Regions from separate parts of the Homo sapiens genome. Here region 1 is linked to region 2. Evidence: promoter capture Hi-C in human tissues and cell types (Jung and others, 2019). All regions are on one chromosome and are shown on one strand. The core of a region is centred on a gene start or on the middle of the fragment in contact, and the rest is flanking DNA. Distances in the headings are between cores, read along the strand shown.

Region 1 (5,016 bases), core at 1,814-4,313, 44 kb before region 2:
CCAAATCATAATCTTATGCCTAGAATCCTTTTGTGATTCATAAGCATGGTGACTGGGTTTTCATGCTTTTGTGTGAGATGTGCCTCCCTTAAACCTTGTTACAATATCAGCACATTACCTGTCTGATGTGAAAAGAAATAAAATAGAAAAGAAAAAAGAAAAAAAAAACTCTTATGCTTAGTGACAAGTTGAATTCTGGTATGGTAAAAGGCTTCTATTAAAAACTGGTATTAATTTTTAGAGTTAGTAAGTTCAAAGAATTTAAACTCTGAATAATGAGTACCTTTTATATTTTGGGTTATATCTTTGTAATTCACACATTTTCCAAATCCTATGTTAGGTGTCATTTTATTGAGTGCCCACTATGTGCTTAACAGCTGTAAAAAGAAGAAAGAATTTTAAAAGAATCAGAAGACACATTATCCTATCGTGTTTCAGAAAGGTTTCTGCTAATCTCTATAGTAGTCAGGGCAACAGATTAGTCTTAACTATACATGACATACTATAATATCTAAATATAAGTTATACTGTATATAAATAGAAATTTTTATCTATGCATGATGAATTGATAAAACTGCACATTGGATACACTTTATAAGTTCTCCTGGAGTAAAGAATGGTAATGTCATCCTGTATAGTAAGGTTAAATCATAACAGGAAATAGATATTTAAGTCACAGAGGATGAGTTAATTCTCTTCCTGGACAGCCTAACTTCTCCTGTTCCAGACTAACTCCTTATTTAGTGTCTTAGACCAGTCCCCTGAGACCTGTTCCTATCAATTATCTCCTGTCTCACTTTTATCTTCTATCTCTTTCCCCACTGCCATTACTTTGGTTCATTTCCTTTAGCACAGAAACATTTTCAAGTCTACTGCATACTTTAAAAACAAGAAAAATATTTGACCTTGCATTCCTCCATCTAGATATAATCCTTTTTCTCCTTCTATTCATGAGAACTCTTGTGAAAATGAATACTCTATTTTTACTGTTTCTTTACATACATATATATATGATGAGTGAGAGAGGTTACTATGTTGCCCAGGCTGGTCTCGAACTCCTGGGCTCAAGCAATCCTCCCACCTTGGCTTCCACAAGTGCTGGGATTACAGGTGTGAGCCACTACACCTGGCCTATATTCACAATTTGTTTGATCAATTTTCTCTTCAACTTACCTCAATCAGGCTTCTCTGTCCCACCTCTCCACTGAAACTACTGTAGCCAAAGTCACAGGTGGCTTCCACACTACCAACTCATAACACTTTTCTTTGTATTATCGAATTTCTCAGTTGCATTTGACAGAATTGGACCATTGATTTCTTCCTAAAACTTTTGGCACACTATTTTCTACTGGTCTTCCACAAATTGCTTTCTGATTGCTCCTTTCAGTCTGTCAAATTCTCCTTTTCTACTTTTACCCCTTACATATGGGGGCTTTCAGGGTTCTGTCCTTGGCATCTATCTCCATGGGCATTCCTTGAGTGATGTCATCTCTCTCACAGCTTCAAGAGACTACAAACATTACTTTAGGATATTTTCATCACTGGTCTTCTTGGATATCTTACTGCCTAATTGGAACATGTTTGCTAACATATTCCACAGGATTACATACCTCAGCTGGTCCGCAACTGAACTCATCTTCCCACTAAAGCTTTACTTCTTGTACTTTTGTTAATATCATCTGCCATCTACTCAGCCCAACCAAGCTCAAAGTCTTCAAGAGTTAACCAGTCTTCTATCTTTATTTCACCTCATAATCCATCATCAGGCCTCTACCACTTCACTTTTTATATATTTCTGTAATCTATCTCATCCTGTCTATCCCAACCACAACTGCCTTAGTTTGAGTCTATGTTAGTTCCAGGACTTGGCAACTGCAACAATCCACTCTAAATTGTAACTCTGACCTTACATCTCTACATAAAACTTTTATGTTCCTCACTGCCAAAAGCAGTATTTTTTGTGTCAGGGTTACCTGTGGATGCTTGTAAAGATGCATATTCCTGGGTCAATCTGCATTTTTACATATTTTTCAACTTATTCTGATGCAATGTAAAGCCTGAGTACGGGCTAAAGTTTAAGTTTAAATTTCTTACCAAGGCATAAAAAGCCTCCAAGGTCTTGGCTCTTGCCTACTTAGTTCTCTAATCTAGCACCTCCCTTTTTCTCCCATCACGTGCTTTATTATCTAGAGTACTGAATTCATTTACACTTATCCAAGTGTCTCTGGCTTCCATGCTTTTGCTGTTCCTCTTTCTTCTCACCAAGTCTTATGCAACCTATTGCATATTATGCTTTTTTTCTATCAAGCAGGTACTAACTTTTAACTCTTATTAACCAAAGACTGGGGTTTCTTGCTATTGTATCATAAAAAAAAAAAAAAAAAAAAAAATCAGGTCTTTTTCCCCAGTTCCTGACACAGAGCTCCTAAAACCCTTGGAATTTCCTGAGTGACACGAGTGATAGAAGCATCTTTAGTTTTAAGGAAGTGTCTCTTGGCTGGCCCCTAGATAGCTTTAGGATGGGAGCTAGTCACCAGAAACACCAATCCTTGATTAGAAGCTTGTAATTTTCAGCTCCATCACATAACCAGGGAAGGAGTGGAGATTGAGTCAGTTACCAATGACCAATGATTTAATCAATAATGCTTACTGATATGGTTTGGGTATGTACCCACCTAAATCTCATCTTGAATTGTAGCTCCCATAATTCCCACATGTGATGGGAGGGAGCCAGTGGGAGGTAATTGAATCATGGAGGCTGGTTTTTCCTGTGCTGTTCTGGTGATAGCAAGTCTCACGAGATCTGATGGTTTTATAAAGTGGATTTCCCCTGCACATGGCTCTCTTGCCTGCCGCCATGTAAGATGTCCTTTTGCTCTTCCTTATTCTTCCACCATGATTGTGAGGCCTCCCCAGCCATGTGGAACTGTGAGTCCATTAAAACTCTTTCCTTTATAAATTACCCAGTCTCAGGTATGTCTTTATTAGCAGCGTGAGAACAGACTAATACAGTAAATAGGTACCAGGTAGTGGGGCACTGCTATAAAGATACCCGAAAATGTGGAAGCAACTTTGGAACTGAGTAGCAGGCAGAGGTTGGAACAGTTTCGAGGACCCGGAAGAAGACAGAAAAATGTGGGAAAGTTTGGAACTTCCTAGAAACTTGGAGGGCTCAGAAGACAGGAAGATATGGGAAAGTTTGTAACTTCCTAGAGACTTGTTGAATGGCTTTGACCAAAATGCTCATAGCGATATGGACAATAAGGTCCAGGCTGAGGTGGTCTCAGATGGAGATAAGGAACTTGGGAACTGGAGCAAAGGTGACTCTTGCTATGTTTTAGCAAAGAGACTGGTGGCATTTTGCCCCTGCCATAGAGTTCTGTGGAACTTTGAACTTGAGAGAGATGATTTAGGTATCTGGTGGAAGAAATTTCTAAGTGGCAAAGTGTTCAAGAAGAAGCAGCGCATAAAAGTTTGGAAAATGGCCGGGTGTCGTGGCTCACACCTGTAATCCCAGCACTTTGGGAGGCTGAGGTGGATGGACCACCTGAGGTCAGGAGTTTGGGACCAGCCTGACCAATATGGTGAAACTCTGTCTCTACTAAAAATACAAAAATTAGTCAGGCATGGTAGCGTGCACCTGTAGTCCCAACTACTCGGGAGGCTGAGACAGGAGAATTGCTTGAACCCAGGCGGTGGAGGTTGCAGTGAGCCAAGATCATGCCACTGCACTCCAGCCTGGGCGACAGAGAAAGACTCCATCTCAAAAAAAAAAAAAAAAAAAGTTTGAAAAATTTGCAGACTGATGATGTGATAGAAAATAACCCATTTTCTGGGGAGAAATTCAAGCCTGCTGAAGAAGTTGCATAAGTAACAAGGGGCTGAATGTTAATCACCAATTATAGCGCTCCTTCAACTTCTATTACACAGTTCTGAAGACACTTTACCAAGAGTATGTGGTATCCTTAAGTGCTAAAGCTGGACAGGACCTTAGAGATTAAAGATTTTTTTCTCGGATAAGAAAACCAGGACTAGAAAGATGAAAAGATTGACCAGAGCCAGAGTTAAGTGGTAGCAAAGCCAGATGAATGGCTCTCCTATCGAGCCAATGTAATTTCTTCAACATCATGCAGCTTATACTACTTTGGGGCCACCTATCTTATTTAATTATATGCCTATAGAGGATATTTTGTTAACAACTTAATACTTGAGATCAGTAGTAGTGTTATAAAAGCAAGCTATTAGCATAGAACACAATAAAAAAAAATCTTGGAGCAGGCATAGAAATTTTTGTACATCTTAGATATTATAACTACGAAATTATTTAGTGAGGATCAATAGAGGATAAACTTGAGCTTTAGTAAGAATAAACAAAAACAAAACAGAGTACTTTAGGTGTATTTCCTAGGTCCTATTTCCTAGACCCATCAAAAATGACATGGAATTCAAGACTGGAGTTTAAGACAAGAAGGGTAAGGCAGGCCAATCTTTGGTACGTGCTTTCAAGACAAGGGTCTCTGAAGTCGGATTGCCTGGATTCTAATCCTGTCCTACCCCTTATCTGTGCCTCTATTTCCTCATCTGTAAAATGAGGATGGTAATAGTACACATCTTCAGAGGGTGGTTGTCAGGACTGAATCAGATCATATTGATAAAGAGTTCAGAATAGTGCCTAGCACAGAGTAAGCCAATGTTGGTTGTTCTTATTTCTTTCTCTTTGAAGAGCAGAAACCTGGTCATCATAGTAGAGGGAACAGAGCTACTTTTAAATGGTCTTCTGCAGTTCAGGTTAGGGAATGCTATTACTAAATACTAATTTTAGAAAATAAATAAGTGCTTTCAGCTTATTTTAATGTAATTTAATGTGAAGAAAACATTTCCTTATCTTTTATAAAAACTAAGATGACCTTACAGAACACAATATAGTTTTTGCAGATTAGTATATGTGAAGATTATGAAAGAAACTATGCTGAGGCCAGGCGTGGTAACTCATGACTGCAATCCCAGCACTTTGGG
Region 2 (5,142 bases), core at 2,540-5,039:
AGCTACTGGGGAAGCTGAGGTGCGAGGATCACTTGAGCCCAAGAGGTGGAGGTTGCAGTGAGCCGAGATTGTGCTGCTGCACTCCAGCCTGAATGGCTGAGTGAGACCTTGTCTCAAAAAAAAAAAAAAAAAATCTTAAAATACCACTGTGATCATTTCTACTCAAAACCTCAGCAGACTCTCCACTACCTTCTCCATCAAGTTCAAACTCCAAACTCCCAAGCTCAGTAGTCCCTGTGCAGCCCTAGCTGCCTCCTCGCCTTTATCTCTTACTACTGTCCCATACAAATCCTTCCTCAAACTGGTCTATTTAATTCCTTCAGATATGCCCTGTACTTTTCTGCCTCTAAGTTTTGGTGTACACAATTTCTCTTCACTTGCAATACTCTCTTCTTCACAGCTTGTCTCTTGGCCTATAGAAATTCAATCCATCCTTCAAGAACTAGTTCGAGAGCCACCTATTAGGCATACTTTTTGATCACCAAGGAGGAAAAGATGGCAGATTCTAAAGTTAGACACATCTGGGTTTGAATTATAACTCCAGTCACTTACTGGCTGAATGACACTGCGCATATTCCTTAATAACTCTGCCTCAGCTTCATCTTTAAGATGGGGATAAGAGCAACTTCCCTAAGGCATACTGTGTAAAGTAAATGAATTAATTCATGTAAAGCGCTTAACATGATGCCTGGCATAGATGAGGACCCAAGAAATGTTAGATATTGTTATACTCTTATTATTAACATTGCCATTAGTGAACTTATCTTAATCTGAATTCAGACAATACTTATGACCATCACAAACTCTTCAGGTACCTACAGTATCATTCCCCTTCTTCTTCTTTTCCCTCTTACCTTATGTTTGTTCTTCCTCCAATGCCCCAGCCCCCCAGATTGCAAGATCCTGATGAACAGGTCAATTTCCTATACATCTTAGTATCTACAATGGTCACTCACACCTAGCATATTGTTTAATGCCTAATGAAACAACACTAAAGAGCTGGCAGTATTAAAATGCCCTGCATCCTATAGTGTAAAAGTATTAACAGCGTACTTAAAGTGATTAATAAAAAAATGTAAATTTCCAGTCTCACAAAATTAAATCTCTTCTTTCATGGTCCTCTAGGTTCTTTTTGCTCTCTATTTTAAAACAAACAACCCAACCTATTCATACAGCAAGAGATAGAACAGCAAAATATATGGAGGTCAGACAGCAGCCAAATGCTAGAGTACAAGGACCTCGAAACAACTCAGCTGAACACAATTCTGGATGAAGTCCAATAGGAAGACAATTTAAAGAGAAAGGAAGCTGGCTTATCAGTTATACTAATGATGCTGATTGTTACACCAGCCTTAGGATTCCTTTGCATTCAGGGCCAAGTATAAACAACTGAAATAACCAGGCTAGTAGATATAGAAATATTAGTGATTTTGCTCAACAACTGAGCTTATTACATGATCAATTTAATTACCTATGTCAAAAGTGACTATTAACATACCTCAAGATTCTAAAGTAACTCAAGTTTTGGCTAATGAAGTCATATCAAGTGTACACGGTCTTACTGTATACTAATCATTCACTTCAAGTAAATTAGTATGATGACAACTTGATATACATATATTATCATAGCATAAGCTATTTTCAACAGTGCCCAAGGAAAATAAATGTTACTATAGTACTGATTTCTAGTTTATTTGCATGACTCTACTAACTTTCAATCGATTTCTTCAAAATCAGGCCTAGTAACCACAAACCAAAGAGTTTACTAGTGGAGTGAATTAAGAAGGTTTGATGGTATGTTAATGACTTTCCAAAAACTAGCATAAAGTACTACACATAAGAATAAATTATATTAAAGATTTATTCCTATGATACTTGTCTTCAGATGACCCTAAAATGTTTTACCAGCTTTGAAGTACAAGTATTCTCAAATCACAAAATCTTAGATTAGAAATAGTCTTAGAAGTCCCCCACTGCAGGAATTCTTTATACCACCTCCCAGGCAAAATGTTCTCCAGCCTTTGCTTGAATATTTCCAGCAATGTGCACTCACTATTTTGCAAGGCAGTGCACTCCACTGTTACAAATTCTTCCTTACAATCACTGGAAATCTGCCTCCCTGAACCAAGAATCCCAGTTCTGCTCTCTGAAACAACACAAGATATATAACCTTTGAAATAAAATCACTTATTAAGATATAGTTGTCAATTTCATCACACAAAATGCAATTAAAGCTCAGAAAAGAAGAAACCACAACCATACACAACAAAACTTTGAAATTCAGGAAATTATACTGAAATGACAAGCCAGCAAATTTCAGGATATCAAAGCTCACACCTCAGTTAACATACAAATATTAAGGGTAACCTGATGATTTTTTTACAGTGGAAAGTGGTACAGTGTTTATTAAATACCTTTTTTTGCAACCTGATACTACCAAATCCACCAACACCGTTTTTAAAATTACAGTTCTGTAGGAAGTTCAAGGTGGTTTTCCCAGTTGCTCGCATTTTCACTCAGTTTATTTCTCTCTAAAACATCTGGATGTTGGTTTTTTAAAGCCCATTTGCCCCACTGGTGCAATATATTGTTTTTAAAAATAAATATTTTCAAAAATGGAGCCTAAGAGAATGGAGTGTAAACGAATGGGGGTGGGGCGAGGAGAGAAGGCAAAGACGGGCCCAGCGGGGAAAGGCTGGTTACTGGGTATTTTCCTTCTGAGAGCATGCTTTATTGGCATAGGCATCTGAGGTAACGAGCCATACAAACACGACCTTAGAACAAGAATGATCACGAGCAATGAGTGTAAGGCATAAATATCTGTAAGACGGAAATAATTTGACACTGATCACTAAGCAGCACCAGATGCTTCGGGACCTCATAAAGGAAAGGTAAGAGGTCCAGGAAACAGAGATCATTGCTACCCTCTGGGGTGGGGGGCAGGCGGGAGAAACCAAGGAATAACTACGGTTGGGCAGTTCAAAGCCTGAACAGTACAGAGCAAAAGAAAGCCAGCAAGTGACTAGGGGAAGGCACACACCCTGGCGAGTACGAAGAAGGGTGTGCAGTGTGCAAATACTGAACAGGTCTATGAAATGGTGTGGGTAAGAGATGTGGGTGTGGGTAAGGGGCAACGCAGGAGGCTCACGGTCCCCTCCCTGCAGCAGAGCAACAGAGGGTAAAAGAAGGGGGAGGGTGAAAAGCAAGAATGACTCATTACCAAAAGGAAGTGCTCAAGCCATAGGGAGGCATGCCACAGGGGATTTCAGGGCGAGGATTGTGAGGAGCTAGGTGCTCAGGGTGATGGGGGCAAAAATCAACGTCTTGTAGTTCCTGCTGCTAGTCTTTAACATGGGGGTGTGGGGGGGTTCGCGGCAGCCGAGTGCCAAGGCCTGGGAAGCGGCGCGGCGCGTGCGCAGTGGCGTTCGGCGGGACCCGCTGAGGCAAAGCGGAGCCGCAGTGACAGAAGCAAGCGGAGCGGCCGCCAGGAAGGACTCACCGAGGCGCAGGGGCTGGAGGTGGTGCTGGGGGTAGGTGACCGCTGGACCGTGACCAAAGCCATCTAGGCGCTGCTGGGTTGTTCCGGGCAGGGCATTCTTGTCCTGAGTGTGGGGGACGGGAGGGTGACGGAGCCGGGATGGGGAAAGGGGTGCGGGGTGGGGGTGAAGGGAACGGGGAGGAGGAGGAGGCCGCGGGAACGGCCGCAGACTCCGCACCCACCACCAGACTGTCGCCGACTGACGCTCCGAACGGGCGGCGGGCGGGCGGTTCCGCAGCTGCGGGGCACAATGAGCGCTCCCAGTGCGCAGGCGCCACCTGTCAGCTACCGCCTCTCCCCTCGGCGCGCGCCGCCGCCTGGTCGTAACCCTTGAGTTGCCGGAAGCTGGCCGAGTGCGTGCGCCTCGGGCCGCCGCACCCTCCTGGGTTTCCTCCTTCGTGCTGGAATCGCGCGGTTTGCCAGCACTGGGTGCTGTGGAGTGGGGTGGGGGAAGGGGCCGAAGGGAGCCAGCCCGGTGAGGGGTCCCAGGGCGGGGGGCCGCTGGAGTCTTCACTCCTGAGAGACAACCATTTTATGAGGTGGGGCGGCGCACAGCTTAACCAACCTTAAAAAAAAGCAGCTGAGATGAAAATCCTGAAGCAAACACGTTTTCTATTGGGAAAGGGCTCCGCGGAGTTTCAAACCCTCTCACTGGGCGCAGACAGAACTGGGCTAGACCAGTTTACTCCCTTCACCCCGGCTCTCGGGGGCTTTTTCTTAACTTTTCCCCCCCTTCCGTCTATGTTTTATGATGAGACTTCTGGAAAGAAAACCATTTTCCGTTTGATACCCTGGAAAGGTTTGTGGTACCCTCATGCTTCCTCTATTGCCTGTCTAAAGACTTATTCATTATTCCTGAGGAGAAGAGAAGCTGAGCGCGCCTGGGAGTCCGAGGAAGCCGGTTGTGAGGGTCCAGCCTGCTATTGACCTCTCACTTGCCTCCTGCTGTGAAGACAGTCTTTTAATTAAACAGGATTTGCTCGTTAAGCTTTCTTCTCCTTCGTCTCTAAATGTCATTCTTTCATAGACCTATGTAAAAATGTAGATTAAAAGATATTTTAAGGGAATGGTTTTCTCAGGGGTAAATTGTCTGCAGAACATAAGCAAAGAATGTAATGGAAAATCAAGATTAAAAAGGAAAAAAATTGCACAATGCAAATATCACTGATTATTTACACAAAGAAAGAGAGTTGACAAGGCTATTTCTCAGCTTGAGTGGATGAGCTGGTAAATACCACCGTACATATCAAAGCTGTAGAAAACACACACACTTGGGAGTTTGCAGTTATTAAAACCCACCCCCTCCTGTTTGTCACTCAAACACTCTTGGATCTCATTGCTTCTTTTAAACTGACAGGGCTGTCATGAGCTCTTTCTGGCTGCTGTACGGTTAAACGCCACAAGAGTCCTCTGTGCTGAGCCTTTGTTCTCTCCCTGGGGCCCTGTGGTTGAAATAATTAGCAGGGAGGTTCCATCAAGAATCAGACACTGAGGGTCCCTGTACTGTACAGTCCTATGTAGAGTGTAGTGCAGAGAAGCCAGCTGGTAGGCTTTTGCCCCCTGGTGGTGATCAGGAGTGCCTGTGAGACAAAATTAAACAAAGA

What was found. Contacts are between HindIII fragments. The study calls those that stand out against the background at their distance.
Region 1: a fragment that was not itself captured here is called in contact with the fragment with the promoter of SSH2 in region 2 in 2 of the 25 tissues and cell types used here (adrenal gland and aorta).

What each region holds. Positions count from the first base shown.
Region 1 is chr17:29,882,982-29,887,997 of GRCh38, forward strand. All of the region lies in intron 1 of SSH2 (slingshot protein phosphatase 2), which reads right to left. LOC124904117 (small nucleolar RNA U13) reads left to right here and starts at 25; the gene lies at 25-128. The HindIII fragment of the contact is 5,413 bases long and covers 358-5,016 here.
Region 2 is chr17:29,926,439-29,931,580 of GRCh38, forward strand. It overlaps SSH2 (slingshot protein phosphatase 2), which reads right to left and starts at 3,790. Exons shown (of 16, transcript NM_001282129.2): 1 at 3,500-3,790. The coding sequence starts at 3,562. It also overlaps a transcript of EFCAB5 not described here. RefSeq lists silencers at 2,990-3,039, 3,550-3,829, 3,980-4,069, 4,803-4,972. The HindIII fragment of the contact is 11,754 bases long and covers 1-5,142 here.